Regions from separate parts of the Homo sapiens genome. Here region 1 is linked to region 2. Evidence: promoter capture Hi-C in 16 types of primary human blood cells and fetal thymus (Javierre and others, 2016). All regions are on one chromosome and are shown on one strand. The core of a region is centred on a gene start or on the middle of the fragment in contact, and the rest is flanking DNA. Distances in the headings are between cores, read along the strand shown.

Region 1 (4,856 bases), core at 1,271-3,770, 340 kb after region 2:
TTTTAACATGCCAATCGATACGTTTCTTCAGGCACACGCCTTTTCAAAGTTTCCTGTCACTGGGGGTCAGTCTGAAATTCTTATTCTATGGTAGCAGACGTTAAAGGATAACTTTCGATTATCTGGTTAATATTTAACTTTTATCAACATTGATATTGCAAAATAATCAGGTCTTGAAATTTATCAAGCATGAAATGAATACCATTCAGATGGATTTGTGGTTTAAGAGGAATCCAGTTTCATAAACGAGTCTCATCTTTTTTTTTTCTTTTTTTTTTGAGACAGAGTTTTGCTCTTGTTGCCCAGGCTGGAGTGCAATGGCGTGATCTCGGCTCCCTGCAACATCTGCCTCCTGGGTTCAAGCGATTCTTCTGCCTCAGCCTCCCAAGTAGCTGGGATTACAGACACCCGCCACCACGCCCAGCTAATTTTTGTATTTTTAGTGGAGATGGGGTTTCTCCATGTTGGTCAGGTGGGTCTCAAACTCCTGACCTCAGGTGATCCACCTGCCTCAGTCTCCCAAAGTGCTGGGATTACAGGGGTGAGCCACCGTGCCTGGCCAACTAATCTCATCTTTACCTAGAAACAGAAAAGCAGGGAACAACGGAATACGATGAACTTCAAACTTTTTTTGCATTTTGGTTAGAACTTCCTGCCCACAGAACATATGAATTCCTCAAATGGGTCAGCCACAGAGTAATGGGAGGTCTTTTTGGGGGTTTAGGGTCATGTCTCAGGGGCCACTTGGTTATTGATATGGTCCTCCTGGAAGCAGAGAGATGGAATAAAAAGGTCGGGAGGCCAAGGCGGGCAGATCATGAGGTCAAGAGATCGAGACCATCCTGGCCAATATGGTGAAACCCTGTCTCTACTAAAAATACAAAAATTAGCTGGGCATGGTGGCATGCATGCGCCTGTAGTCCCTGCTACTTGGGAGGCTGAGGCAGGAGAATCACTTGAACCGGGAGGTGGAGATTGCAGTGAGCCAGGATGGCACCTCTGCACTCCAGCATGGCAACAAAGTGAGACTCCGTCTCAAAAAAAAAAAAAAAAAGGTCTCGAGTCCTGTAATATACTTAATTTACTGTCTTGGCTTCCACCTTGGTTTCAATTTTTCCACTAGAGGGTCAAAAGTAGAATCCTGCTGCTCTGATCAAGTACTTGACGCAGATGTACATTCGAATGATTTATTTTCCTTTTGCTTTCTTGGGTTTTCTAATTTTTCTACAATGAGTGGCAAGATAACTAAAATGTGAATCATGCCTTCATAGGACTCACATTCTAGAGAAGGCAACAGTTAGAAGCAAACATGCTATAGTAAGATAAATACATGATTTATCCCACTGTAAATACATGCCCCAGATTAGGGGCGTGGAAGCTCAGCAGCAGAAAGAGCCCCTGAACCTCAGGGCACAAAGTGCTGGGTAGGGAGAACAGGGAGAAAGAGCCCACAGACTAAGTCGTGAAAGAATCTGAAGGGGGCCAGACTTAGCAAATGAAATACAGTATGCCCGTTAAGTGTGCATTTTAGATAAATAATGAAACAATTTTTAGTATAAGCATGTCCCAAGTGAGTCATGAAGGATGGAGTTTGGTTCTTCCAGGGACTTTGGGAAGGGAAAGCATTTCAGTTAGCGGGAACTGTTTCTGCAAAAGTGTGGAAGTGTGAATGGCATGGATTTGTTGCCTGTTTCAAATGTGAACGTCTGTGCCTCGACATGAATCGACAAGCCTTACTCAGAGGGCAGTTTTATTTCCGAGCATCATCCACTGCTGCACCCTCAAAGTGAAGGGTAGGTGGGAAGCAGCAGGATTTGAGGCCACAGTGGGAAGCAGGGCCACCATCTCCAGGAGCCTTTGATGATGGGTGAGGGGTTTGGACTTTATCCAACAGGGGACCAGGAAGAGGGAAGGATTTTAAGCAAAAGCATGAACTTCCTGTTTGATTTTTGGCAATCATGGGAAGGAAGTAAGACTAAAATCTTAGAGACTATTTAGGAGGCAGATTAACGGCCCCTCAAGGATCTCCACGTCCTAATCCCCAGACCCTGTGCATGTGTTAGGTTACCTGGCAAGAGAGAATTAGGGTTGCACATGGATGAAGGTTTCTCATCAGCTGACCGTGAGAGGGGAGGTTGTTTTGGAGTATCTGATGGGCCCAGTGTAATCACAGAGATCCTTATGAATGGAAGTGGGAGGCAGAAGAGGAGATCAGTGTCGGAGAGAGAATTGCAGAGGCTGCCCTGCTGACTTTGAAGATGGGGAAGGGGCCATGAGCCAAGTAATGCGGGTGGCCTTTAGAAAATGGAAAAAACAAGGAGACAGATTCTCCCCTGGAGACTCCAGAAAGAATGCAGCCTGCCAACACCTTGGTTTTTAGCCCAGTGAAATGCATTTCAGACATCTGGCCTCCAGAACGAGAAGATCATAAATTTGTGTGTTTTTAAGTTATTAAGTCTGTGGTAAGTTGTTACAGCAGCCATAGAAACTAATGTAGAGGCTGTTTGCAATGATCCAGGTCACAGATGGTGAAGGCTTGGAATTGGCAATAGGGTCAAGAGAAGGGGATAAGGGCTGGGCACGGTGGCTCACGCCTGTAATCCCAACACTTTGGGAGGCAGAGGCTGGCAGATCATTTGAGTCCAGGAGTTTGAGACCAGCCTGGCCAACATGGCGAAAACCCGTATCTATGAAAAAAAATACAAAAATTAGCTGGGCATGGTGGTGTGCGCCTGTCATCCCAGCTACTCAGGAGGCTGAGGGAGGAGGATTGCTTGAGCCTGGGAGGCGGAGGTTGCAGTGAGCAGTGATTGCAACCTTGCACTCCAGCCTGGGTGACAGAGTGAGACCCTATCTCAAAAATAAATAAATAAAAAAAAATAAAGGGATCAATTCCATGTAAGTTGAGATGGACTCAGAGACCGACTGGACGCCTAAGGTCAGGAGGTCAGGAGATCCCCCAGCCCAGCAACCCTTTCTCCTCTCCTGATGCCCCAAGGCCTGCTCCTCCTTCCACAGCTCCCAGGGAGCCTCTGATCAAGTCTCTATCCTGTCCCAGGGCTGATTAGTACCTACTTTTGTGACAGGGGCCTAACAGGGAATTCTTTTTCATTTTTATTTTTGAGATGGAGTCTCATTCTGTCACCCAGGCTGGAGTGCAGTGGTGTGATCTCGGCTTACTGCAACCTCGGCTCACTACAACTTCCGCCTCTGCAACCTCTGCCACTGCAACTTCTGCCTCCTGGGTTCAAGTGATTCTCTTGCCTCAGCTGTAGCGGGGACTACAGGCATGCGCCATCATGCCCGGGTAATTTTTGTATTACTAGTAGAGATGGGGTTTTGCCATGTTGGCCAGGCTGGTCTCGAACTCCTGACCTCAGGTGATCCGCCTGCCTCAGCCTCCCACAGTGGCTTGAGCCACTGCACCCAGCCCTAAGAGGGAACTCTAAAGGAAGCTCTGTAGGTATCTGCCTCGTGGTTACACACACAGGGTGGCTGTGAAACCGCCTTTGCAAAAATTACAACTGAGGAAATTATGACAGTGAAAGAGATCAGACCTAACCGACTCCATCTTCCTTCTAACCTTTAAGCTGTCCTTGTTCATTCCTGGGCATAGGCCTGAACTAACTTTGGGAAGGAATTCAGTTCATGTTTTGACTCTGAAACAAAATTGATAATAGCCATTTCCCTAAAAAAAACCCCATTCTTGCCTGTGGACCAGTCTGCCTTTGCAAGACTAACAAATTAGCTACAAGATTAGAAATTTAGTTTAGCGGTCATGCAGCCTCTGGCTCCAAGAGTCTGAGCCTCCCCAGATTGCTCCTGCAGATAACATCACTATTGTAAAACCTAAGATCAGTGCTTGAGATAGTTTGCAGACCCTGCATTCGATGGATCAGCTGACACAACCCAGACTGGTAATCTGGCTCAACCATTTCTGCCATCCTCCCCAGGAACAGAAGACAGCAAGAAAACCACACTTCCACCCCCTAGGATTCCATCTCCAGCCTGACCAATCAGCACTCCCTGCTTCCCAAGCCCTTACCCGCCAAATTATCTTTAAAAACCCCGATCCCCGAATGCTCAGGGAGACTGTTTGGAGTAATAATAAAACCCAGTCTCCCACACACCAGCTCTGTGTGAATTACTCCTTCTCCACTGCAATTCCCCTGTCTTGATAAATTGGCTCCGTCCAGGCAGCGAGCAAGGTGAACCCACCGGGCAGTTACAGCTATGGGCATATAACTGCAGGTATTTTCAGAGTTAACTAGACTCTTGTGATTAGCTGGGAATCCATTCACTTGATGGGGTAACAAATCTGAGTTCCAAACCCCCGGTTTATCAATTCCCAAGCTGGCAATCAATTCCCATGCTAGCTTAGCTAAATGTATTTTCAGATTTTTTTTTTTTTGGGGACAGAGTTTTGCTCTTGTTGCCCAGGCTGGAGTGCAATGGTGCGATCTTGGCTCACTGCAACTTCTGCCTCCCAGGTTCAAGCGATTCTCCTGCCTCAGCCTCCCGAGTAGCTGGGATTTCAGGCACCCACCGCCATGCCTGGCTAATTTTGTATTTTTAGTAGAGACAGGGTTTCTCCATGTTGGTCAGGCTGGTCTCGAACTCCCGACCTCAGGTGATCCGCCTGCTTCGGCCTCCCAAAGTGCTGAGATTATAGGCGTGAGCCACCGTGCCCAGTCTATTTTCAGATTTTTTTGCATGTACTATAGTTTTATAATTTTAGTTTGCTCATGGAAATATGTTGGGTGGCTAACTACTGATGATTCATCCTCACATTATCCCCATGTGCCTGTTGGTGTATTCTGAAAGTGCTTGGGAGGAACATCCCCTAATTACATGTT
Region 2 (4,966 bases), core at 699-3,198:
AAACCTCGTCTCTACTAAAAATACAAAAATTAGCTAGGCATGGTGGTCCGCGCCTGTAGTCCCAGCTACTCCGGAGGCTGAGGCAGGAGAATTGCTTGAACCCGGGAGGTGGAGGTTGTAGTGAGCCAAGATCGCACCACTGCACTCCAGCCTGGGCGACAGAGCAAGACTCCATCTCAAAAAAAAAAAAATTTGTAATTATAGGCCAGGCATGGTGGCTCACGCCTGTAATCCCAGCACTTTGGGAGGCCGAAGCTGGTGGATCACGAGGTCAGGAGATGAAGACCATCCTGGCTAACACGGTGAAACCCTGTCTCTACTAAAAATACAAAAAATTACCCAGGAGGCTGAGGCAGGAGAATCACTTGAACCCAGGAGGCAGAGGCTGCAGTGAGCCGAGATTGCACCACTGCACTCCAGCCTGGATGACAGAGCTAAACTCAGTCTCAAAAAAAACACAAAACAAAAAACAAAAACAAACAAAAAAAAAAGATCTTCTAAAAGAAAGAAAGAAGAACTATTCTTTTTTTTTTTTTTTGGAGATGATGTCTGATGTCTCACTCTGTCACCCAGGCTGGAGTGCAGTGGCTTGATCTCGGCTCACTAAAACCTCCGCTTCCCGAGTAGCTGGGATTACAGGCCTGTGCCGCCACACCTGGCTAATTTTTGTATTTTTAGTAGGGATGGAGTTTCGCCATGGTAGCCAAGCTGGTCTGGAACTCCTGACCTCAGGTGATCCGCCCACCTCGGCCTCCAAAGTGCTGAAATTACAGGCGTGAGAGCCACCGCACCTGGCCCGACGAGCTTTTTTTTTTTTTTTGGAGACACAGTCTCGCTCTGTCACCCAGGCTGGAGTACAGTGGCGTGATCTCGGCTCACTACAACCTCTGCCTCCCTGGTTCAAGCAATTCTCCTGCCTCAGCCTCCCGAGTAGCTAGGACTACAGGCATACGCCGCCATGCCCAGCTAATTTTTTGTATTTTTAGTAGAGACGAGGTTTCACCGTGTTGCCCAGGCTGGCCTCGAACTCCTGAGCTCAGGCAATCCAGGTGCCTCGGCCTCCCAAAGTGCTAGGATTACAGGCGTGAGCCACCGCGCCCGGCCACGAATAGCACTGTACTATGCCTGAGACACAGCTAAGTGCTTTATATGGATTACTTCACTATATTCTCAATAATAAGATATTATTATGTATTTCGTCTATTTCACAGGCAAGGAAATCAAACCTCAGAGGCTAAATGTTCCATGACTTCTCCAAGATCATGAAGTAAGCACTGAGTAAGTAGGGAGGGGGAGCAAGGACTCAACCCCTTGCTCCTAATCTTTACTCTATACCGCATTCAGGAGCCGCCAGCTGTATGGGGAACAAGGCCTGGATCCCACCCCAAAGACATGGATTGGAGACCCACCCCTTGGTGACCCTAGACCCGCCAATAGATCGTTGTGAAGCTGCAGTTTCCCTATCTGTAAAATGGGAGCATTTAGTCCACCAGCGCGAAAGGCACGGAGGGAGTTTCCCTATTATATGACCGTACACGAAATCTAGACTGTGACCAAAGTCTCCCGCTCCTCAGCCTCCTCTCCTCCGCATCCTCAGCCACTAGTCACGCTGGAGAGGAGGCGTGGGAACTGACCTCCGCGGGCCGGGCCTCGGCAACGCGCATCCTCCCACCCGGCCTAGCCCAGCCCAGATCGGGGAGGGGGTGCGCGGGGGGAGGAGGTCAGGGGTCACTGAACTTGGGTCACGTGGTCAGCCAAGGGGGCGGGCCCTCGCGGTGCGGGCTCCAAGACTGGTGAGTAAGCAGTCGGCGTCGGGAATGGGGAGTCCTTGGACCAGAGCAAGGCCTGCTCACCTGAAGACCCCGGCGTGGCGAAGGCTGCTACCGAGACGACGGCGGCGGGGGCGGTGGCGGCGGCGCCCACTCACGAGCTCACACTCATTCCCTCTCCCGGGGCCCCGGCCCCGCCCTCCCCAATACAGCCAGTCGGCGGGCGCCTTGGAAAGTTTCCGGCCCTCCAGGAGGCTTCCTGGCTCTTGATTGGCCAGTGTGAACAGACTGTAGAGACCGGCGGTCACGTGACGCTGAAGATTCCCGCTTCTTAAAGCAACCTCTCTTGCTACGTTTGCGAGTAGGTGTGTATTGTTTTAACACACGTTTAATAAGCATATTTTATTTTTTTTACCACCACAATAGTAACGAGGAAATAAACAGTCTCAAAGACAGCGTCTTGATTTTCTTTGTCTTGTTTGCTCGCGAGTTTCTGAGCACCCGCATTTTCGCGACTGCAGCAAAGCTTTAGATTTTGGTGTCTGGCTTAGTTTTCCTGCCCGGCCTACCTCCCCAACATCACATGCCACTTCCCCTTCCTGAAGGGATAGATGGGGCTCTCGGTAGGTGTTCTCGGCAGGCAGAAGGGACTTCTGACCCGGCCGAACATCCCGTGCAAGCTCCGGACTCCAGGGTTCTGCTCTTTCTGCACCTACTTCGCATTCTCCCCACGCCTGTGAACCAAATACAAGCCCTGGCCTACCTCGCCTTGCATGACCGTTGGACACGCACACTGACAGCTCTCTTTCTCCAACTCCCACTGCAATAGCAGCTACTTGGGCAGTTCTTAATTGATAAGCAGTGGGCTTAGTGAGTAAAGGATGGTATTTGGAATCAGACCGACCTGGGTTAAAATTCTGACACTGCCTTTGGGCAAATTACCTAATATGGAGTAATAATGCGCACTTCACAGGGTTGTTGTAAATTAATGTCTGTGAGAGTCCCTGGCAGAGTTGGAGGTTAAACTTCTTTCCCGGCCGGGCGCGGTGGCTCACGCCTGTAATCCCAACATTTTGAGAGGCCGAGGCGGGGGATCACCTGGGGTCGGGAGTTCAAGACCAGCCTGATCAACATGGAGAAAAATCCATCTCAACTAAAAATACAAAATTAGCCGGGTGTGTTGGCACATGCCTGTAATCGCAGCTACTCGGGAGGCTGAGGCAGGAGAATTGCTTGAACCCGGGAGGCGGAGGTTGTGGTGAGCCGAGATCGCGCCACTGCACTCCAACCTGGCCAACAAGAGTGAATCTCCGTCTCAAAAAAAAAAGAGAGAAACTTTCTTTCCCTCACATGTCACAAGGCATACAGTGAATTCCTTTAAGTTCACCCAAGATGGGGTAGTTTGCACTGAGTGAACTGTGGGAACATTCTGCAAGGGAGCATGAATGTACACATTTTTTCTCTTTCCCCCTCTCAGGGTTAGATGCTGCTGCCGCTGGAAAAGAAAATCCCCTGGGACCCGAGCTGGCAAAGCCAGATGGATGCGACTGTGGTTGCCATGGCAACCCCACCTAAGGAGAATGTGACCCTGCTGAGTCTCTTCCACTCATATTCAGAACCATATTAGAAGTGGTTTCAAGTGTCTGCCCACCTGTGCGTTAAGGGAAAGAGAGAGGGCGCTCTCCTCTAAGGTCTGACTGAGCCTGAAGTCAGCTTAGCCAGACCTGGGCAGCTGGCTGACCTCCTTGCTTAGGTTTACTGTTCTGGACAGCCATCAGCAACCTTGGAGACACTAGAAGATGGGAGGGAGACCGGGACTGCCCGGGACCTATTAGATGTAGTGAACCTGTATCCAACCTGTCTGGAGCTCATTTGCTCCCAATCTGAGTGGAGGCAGGAACCAGGGAAGGCAGTAGTGAGACCTCCATGGCCACAGATGGGAGAAAGGTGGCTCGCTCCACACACCCAATGCCTGGCAAGAACTATGATGGCTTTGGTGTCAGACTTTTTTTCTTTTTTCCTTTTTTTGAGACGGAGTAACACCCTGTTGCCCAGGCTGGAGTGCAGTGGCGCAATCTTGGCTCACTACAACCTCCACCTCCCAGGTTCAAATGATTCTCCTGCCTCAACCTCCCAAGTAGCTGGGATTACAGGCACTTGCCACTACCACCAGCTAATTTTTGTGTTTTTAGTAGAGACAGGGTTTTCACCATGTTGGCTAGGCTGGTCTCCAACTCCTGACCTTGTGATCCACCCGCCTCTGCCTCCCAAAGTGCTGGGATTACAGGCATGAGCCACTGTGCCTGGTCAAAGTCAGACTGTTTTTATTCATTTATTTTTATTTTTATTTATTTTTTGAAACTGAGTCTCGCTCTGTCGCCCAGGTTGGAGTGCAGTGGCGTGATAGCTCACTGCAACCTCTGCCCTCCCAGTTTCAAGTGATTCTCCTGCCTTAGCCTCTGGAGGAGCTGGGATTACAGGTGTCCGACACCATGCCTGGCTAAGTGCTGTAAGTTTTGTATTTTTAGTAAAGATGGGGTTTCGCCATGTTGGCCAGGCTGGTCTTCAACTCCTGACCTTGTGATCCGCCCGCCTCAGCTTCCCGAAGTGCTGGGATTACAGGCATGAGCCACCATGCCCGGCCAATTTTTTTTTTTTTTTTTTTTTGAGACAGAGTCCTTGCTCTGTTGCTAAGGCTAGAATGCAGTGGAGCAATCTCAGCTTACTGCAACCTCCACCTCCCCGGTTCAAGCGATTCTTGTGCCTCAGCCTCCTGAGTAGCTGGGATTACAGGCACGCACCACCATACCTGGCTAATTGTCGTATTTTTAGTAGAGACTGGGTTTTGCCATGTTGGCTAGGCTGTTCTCAAACTCCTGACCTCAAGTGATCCGCGCACCTCGGCCTCTCAAAGTGCTGGGATTACAGGCATGAGCCACCACAACAAGCCCAGACTGTTTTTAAAAAATCACAGCTCACCAGCTGTGTGACCTTAGGCATATTAGTTCACCTGTCTGACCTGTCTCATCAACTATAAAGCGGGATAACGAAATCTACTCCATGGAACTGTTGTGAAGATTCAGAAAAGTGTGTAAAGGATTTAGCATGTTGCCAAGCACATGGTACTCTATTAGCCTGTGACCGCTTTAGGAGGCTGTAACTTTCAGAATCCCTTAGTACCAACCTTAAAAGCTCAG

Evidence for each region. The method cuts DNA at HindIII sites, captures the fragments that hold promoters and counts their contacts. A CHiCAGO score of 5 or more calls a contact.
Region 1: a fragment that was not itself captured here is called in contact with the fragment with the promoter of TAF6L in region 2 in 3 of 17 cell types (total B cells, naive B cells and naive CD8 T cells); the score reaches 8.6 in total B cells.

Annotation. Positions count from the first base shown.
Region 1 is chr11:62,428,098-62,432,953 of GRCh38, reverse strand. No RefSeq gene overlaps it. Among named protein-coding and RNA genes, the nearest start is that of SCGB1A1, 11 kb to the right of the region's middle. The HindIII fragment of the contact is 7,397 bases long and covers 1-4,856 here.
Region 2 is chr11:62,768,378-62,773,343 of GRCh38, reverse strand. TAF6L (TATA-box binding protein associated factor 6 like) reads right to left here and starts at 1,948. Exons shown (of 11, transcript NM_006473.4): 1 at 1,854-1,948. It also overlaps a transcript of TMEM223 not described here. RefSeq lists enhancers at 1,359-1,498, 3,661-3,710 and a silencer at 1,689-2,098. The HindIII fragment of the contact is 6,431 bases long and covers 1-2,297 here.